2 separate regions of the Homo sapiens genome follow, and region 2 is linked to region 1. The links are contacts of gene promoters, found by promoter capture Hi-C in human tissues and cell types (Jung and others, 2019). All regions are on one chromosome and are shown on one strand. The core of a region is centred on a gene start or on the middle of the fragment in contact, and the rest is flanking DNA. Distances in the headings are between cores, read along the strand shown. Region 1 holds the start of CCL19 (C-C motif chemokine ligand 19). Region 2 has its middle 14 kb from the start of SPATA31F3.

Region 1 (2,703 bases), core at 35-2,534:
CACAGAGCTGGCGGCCCCTCAGTGTGGTGAACCTGGGGTGAGAGGCCGGAGAGAATGGAGCCCCAGAATCCAGCATGCCTGGGGACCATGTCTGGGAACCTGTTTCAGGGATTTCCTTGAAGGGGTTGGGCTTGGCATGGAGAAGGGGAATAAGAAGGTGGGAGTCTCAACAGGGGCTAAAACGGGAGATGAGGCTAGACACCCTCCCCACAACTCACACTACAGCAGGCACCCTGCAGCCATCCTTGATGAGAAGGTAGTGGAAGTTCCTCACGATGTACCCAGGGATGGGTTTCTGGGTCACAGACAGGCAGCAGTCTTCAGCATCATTGGTGCCACTCAGAGTTGGGGCTGGGATGGGGAAAGAAGGTGACAGGACACAGGGACCCTTGAGGGTGGCATGGCCATGGCCCTAGCTCGGATTGAGGACACCTGTGTGTGTGTGTGTGTGTGTGTGTGTGTGTGTGTGTGTGTGTGTCTGGTGGGGTCGGGGAGGAGTTAGACCTGGTATTCAGCCATTATGCACCAATATGGCTCTGGCTCTACTGGTTGCTAAATATATTGTCATACTTCTAAACTGTTTTGTAAATAACCACTGCCCTGAGCCCCACAAATGACTTCCTGCTGCCCTGATCACCCCAACCTCTCTCCCAGGACAATCCAGCAAGTAAAGAGTTAATGCAGGTCACAGTGTGGGAGGGGCGTGGGGTAGGGTAGGCTGGTGTTAGGAGCCTTATTAATTGCTAAAATTTTTGAATATCAGCCTTGGCTTAGTGTCTGCCATTCTCCCTACCTTAAGCAAATCTCCTTCTGCCTGGGAAACGGAGGCAGCAGGAAATAGAGCTTGCAGAGACAGTCACAGCCATAGGCCCCAGGATGTGCTAAAAGACACACCCGCATTGGGATTCAGGGGCACAGGGACACCCACACTTACAGGCACACATGCAGGGACCTGCCAGGCTCACCGAAATATACAGACCTAAGCATTTGCCTGAACTCACCATGTCCCTTACGTCCAGTGCCAAGCAATCTGAGATCTAGACATTACCCACTGCCAGCCCCCCACTGCCTCTGACCCTGACTCTCCCTTCAGCCTTACCTGGGGAAGTCCAGAGAACCAGCAGGCTGAGGGCCAGTAGCAGGGCCATGGAGGGTGAACAGAGGCAGGCCAACGGTGAATGTGTGAGCGCCAGCTGTCTGGGTGTGTGCAGGATCTGTGTGAGGCTGCAGGGCGACTGGGATGCAGGGGTGAAATGCAAGGTGTGAGTGATGTGAGGCTGGGAATGTGAGCCCTGCAGCTGACTCCTATTTATGGCCAGAGCTTCACTTTCTCTGCCTGAAATTCCCCTTCATGTCCCATTCTGTGATTCCCCTGTTGCCCCCCTCTTTCTGGCAGAATCGCACCCTGCCCCCCTTCTTCCCCCTGCGGTTGCCCTTTCCTTCTGCTTTCCTTGGCTCCTGCTCTGAGAACTTAAGTCTGCAGTCTGGCCCAGTAAAGGGGGCTGTGCACTGTTTCTCCAGAGAGAGGGATTGCCCTGTCATCCCATTGATGGCATTTGCATCATCAACCATGAAGCTGGGGTTCAGAAGTGATGGTCAAAGGTGGGGCCCACAGTGAGGAACTGTGCTCCCTTCCTTAGGTTTATCCCTTGTCCTCACTGGTGCTTCTTTCTTGGGCTGGTGGTGAAGAAGGCTCCCTGGCACCCTCAGGACAACCATGAGATCCTGGGGTGGCCTCCAAGGTCATCACTGTGCCTGCCCACTATGTGGGAACCAGTCCTTCCCTTGGGGCAAGCAGAGCTGAAAGGCCAGGTACCTTGGGAGGAGGCCCAGGACCCCCATCCCACATCTCAGGCCTCTGGGGCTCAGCAAACCCTCCCCTTCCTCTATTTACTGTTTTCCTATGTCCAACACCTGGGTCAAAGGAACAGCTGGAGGGAGACTGGCTTGGAATAGCCCCCTTCATTTTCCCCCTTTTCTCAGTCCTGGGAACCAAGAGGGGATTTCTAAGGAGAGGGGCTGGCCAGCTCATATTCAGACAAATCTTAAAATTTCAAGGAATCGGCCGATGGGGGAGGGGACAAGTGACTTCCCATCCTTATGAGAAAGGTCAGAAGAGAAGGCCTTGAAAGAGAAACTAAATGTGAAACGCCCAGTCACCCGTCGTCACCCAAACCCTAGACCCTCTTTTGGATGGAGAGAGGGAGGGGGAACATTTCCCTCTTAAATTTCTGACTTAGCTTCTTTCCATTCATTAATCATAATAATAGTAATGGTATTTTTGATTGTTTACTATGTGCTAGGCTCTATGTCAAGGACTTTACCACTATTACCTTGCTTAACTTTCCCAAAACAATACCATTGATGTAGTTTTTCTTATTTTCACATTATTATTCTTATTTTACACATAAGGAACATGAGGCTCAGAGCACAAAGCCACACAGCTAGTAAGTACTGGAGCATGATTTGGACCCAGGTGTGCTCTAGGGTTTGCAGTCTTTACCTCCACTCCACACCGCCTGTCTGCCACTTGGTCATGGCACAGCACGGGTAGTCACGGTGCAGAGGAGGGAGACTCTGCAGACAGAGCGCCTAGCTTGGGATTCAGATTCCACCACTTACTAACTGCGACAAGGTGAAAATTCTCCAGTTTCTGTGTCTTAGTGTCCTTATTTGTAAAATGGGAATGGTAGAAGATCTACT
Region 2 (2,800 bases), core at 110-2,609, 220 kb after region 1:
GTAGAGATGGGGCTTCATCATGTTGGTCAGGCTGGTCTCGAACTCCCGACCTCGTGATCTGCCCGCCTCGGCCTCCCAAAGTGCTGGGATTATAGGCGTGAGCTGCCACACCCGGCCTCTTCACAGTAGTTTTCACCTGCTGTAAGTTTTCTCTTCTAGCTTATGGAACTAATACCATACCCCAGAAACAAATGTTTTGTAATTGAGGAAGGGGCACTTCTTGTTGTAAGGATATTTTAGGCTCCATTTAAGGCTTTTGTCTTCACTGCCACTGCCATAGACAATTCATTGATCCCTCAAATTTAAATTGGGTACATTTGTTTATGTGAAAGGCATTGTTATAGTCAAGACGGAAACAGAAAAAAAAATCCCTCTGGGAGCTTTCATTCTAGTGGAAGGAGAGAGAAAGCAAACAAATAGGAAAATATGTAGTATGTTAGATGGTGATAAGTGCAGTGGAGAAAAATAAAGAAGAGACTAAGTCAAGAGTATAAACAAGATTTGTCATTTTTAATAGGTGGCAAGGGGAGGTCTGAGAAGATGATATTGGAGCAAAGACCAGTAGGAGATAAGGGAGCAACTCATGCATGTCTCTGGGAAAAGGGAACAGGAAACATCTATAGGGAGAAGACAGGTAAAGATCCAATAAGACAGTCCCTCAAGCCAGTACACAAGGGGTTGAGGACTTCAGAAAGCCTCCATAGTATGGTGTCCTTTGGACAGACTTTGTCTCGGGTCACCACTTCAAATCCTTATAAGGACTTCTTTCTCAATCTTATTTTATCTTACCTCATCCTTTTTTTCTTTTCTTTTCTTTTCTTTTTTTTTTTTTTTCTTTTTTTGAGACAGAGTCTCACGTCGTCGCCTGGGCTGGAGTGCAGTGGTGCGATCTTGGCTCACTCCAACCTCCACCTCCCAGGTTCAAGCAATTCTCCTGCCTCAGCCTCCCAAGTAGCTGGGATTACAGGGTGCCTGCCACCATGCCCGGCTAATTTTTTGTATTTTTAGTAGAGATGGGGTTTCACCATGTTGGTCAGGCTGGTCTCAAACTCCTGACCTTGTGGTCCACCTGCCTCAGCCTCCCAAAGCGCTGGGATTACAGGTGAGCCACCATGCCCGGCCCCCTTTTTCTCTTTTTTAAGAGATGGGGTCTCACTATGTTGACTAGGCTGGCCTCGAACTCTCAGGCTCAAGCTTCCTAAACAGCTGGGATTGCAAGAGCACACCGCTATACCTGGCTCTTCCCTTATCTTATCTTTGTGTCTTTGGGGACTAATTTGTTTAGTTTTGTCTGCCCAACTTGGGAGGTTTAGCTAGCCTGTCATCAGTGGCAGCCTGGCCTTTGGCCAAGCTCTGGACAAGCACCATCCTATGGACCATTGACATTTCACGTGTTCTGCCTCATCCCAAACTGAGCCTCATCTAGGCCAAATGCTCAATTCCTGTATGGTTTCTCACTATCACATTATCTTGTATGCTTCTCTGTCTGTCACAATTTTACCAGGGACCGTTTGCAATTGCAGCAAACACTTAAGTGAACTATTTACAGAGACTACTTTGTTCTTTTGAGAGGTACCTTAGAACATAAAGAGAAGAAATCCTTTTTTTTTTTTTTTGAGACGGAGTCTCGCTCTGTCGCCCAGGCTGGAGTGCAGTGGCGCGATCTCGGCTCACTGCAAGCTCCGCCTCCCGGGCTCACGCCATTCTCCTGCCTCAGCCTCCCGAGTAGCTGGGACTACAGGCATCCGCCACCATGCCTGGCTAATTTTTTCTGTTTTTTGGTAGAGACGGGGTTTCACTGTGTTAGCTAGGATGGTCTGGATCTCATCTTCTGACCTCGTGATCTGCCCGCCTTAGCCTCCCAAAGTGCTGGGATTACAGGCGTGAGCCACCGCGCCCAGCCGAAGAAATCCTTTTAAGGAGGTTTTTCATCTTGCCTGATTAAGATGGAGTGATTGTTTTGTTTCATGTAGAAGACACCCCTCCTTCATTTCTGTACTTCAGGAGTTAATAAATGCTGGCTTTTAAATTGTATCACTTATAAAATTGTGGAAGGTCAGAGCTACTGTTTCAACCAGCCATAATAACTCTCTGTTGTATGTCTATATGTGAAAATGGGTTTTCCTGCATCTAAGCTTTCTCTCCTCTCCTTGAAGAAGGAATATAATTAGTCTTCTACAGTATTCATATTTGTCTGAAGCCAGTTTTGCCTCTTTTTTTTTGGCTCACCACTATGCTAATGAGGATCTCCTCTCTTTTGTTCTGTTCCTTTCCCTCCTTTTTTCCCCTCTCTTGGAAAACATTAAAAATTAACTTAGAAATAAAAGTCACTCTGTTATTACGTGCATACTCTAGGAATAACTAGTCCAGATAAGCAGCCAAAAATGTCTAAAAGATCTTGAAAATTTCTAAGAGAGTAGATTTTAAGTGTTCTCGCTACATACATACAAAATAAGTATGTGAGGTAGTACAAATGTTAATTAGCTCAAATTAGCCATTTCATAATGTATATTTCAAAACAACATACATGATAAACATATATAATTTGTATTTGTCAATTAAAATATGTAAGTAAATGTTTTTAAAGTCTAAAATCTTTATTAAACTGTTAGGGTTTCTTTTTGTGAACACTTAAAAGTGTATTTACATAGTAGTCTATGTTACTAAGTTATGAGATAAAAAGAAATAGATTTAAAGACTAAGGGGTTTTGTCATGATTCAGAGTCTCTAACTTTTAGTTTACCCTATAGAAAATAATGGCATATTTATCTTTAGATATATATGACTTGTATCTTGTCTT

What was found. Contacts are between HindIII fragments. The study calls those that stand out against the background at their distance.
Region 2: a fragment that was not itself captured here is called in contact with the fragment with the promoter of CCL19 in region 1 in 3 of the 25 tissues and cell types used here (heart left ventricle, hippocampus and mesendoderm cells).

The regions. Positions count from the first base shown.
Region 1 is chr9:34,689,992-34,692,694 of GRCh38, forward strand. It overlaps CCL19 (C-C motif chemokine ligand 19), which reads right to left and starts at 1,285. Exons shown (of 4, transcript NM_006274.3): 1 at 1,100-1,285; 2 at 219-351; 3 at 1-32. The coding sequence starts at 1,148. It also overlaps a transcript of PHF24 not described here. The HindIII fragment of the contact is 19,341 bases long and covers 1-2,703 here.
Region 2 is chr9:34,908,024-34,910,823 of GRCh38, forward strand. It overlaps a transcript of PHF24 not described here. Among named protein-coding and RNA genes, the nearest start is that of SPATA31F3, 14 kb to the left of the region's middle. The HindIII fragment of the contact is 3,933 bases long and covers 1-2,800 here.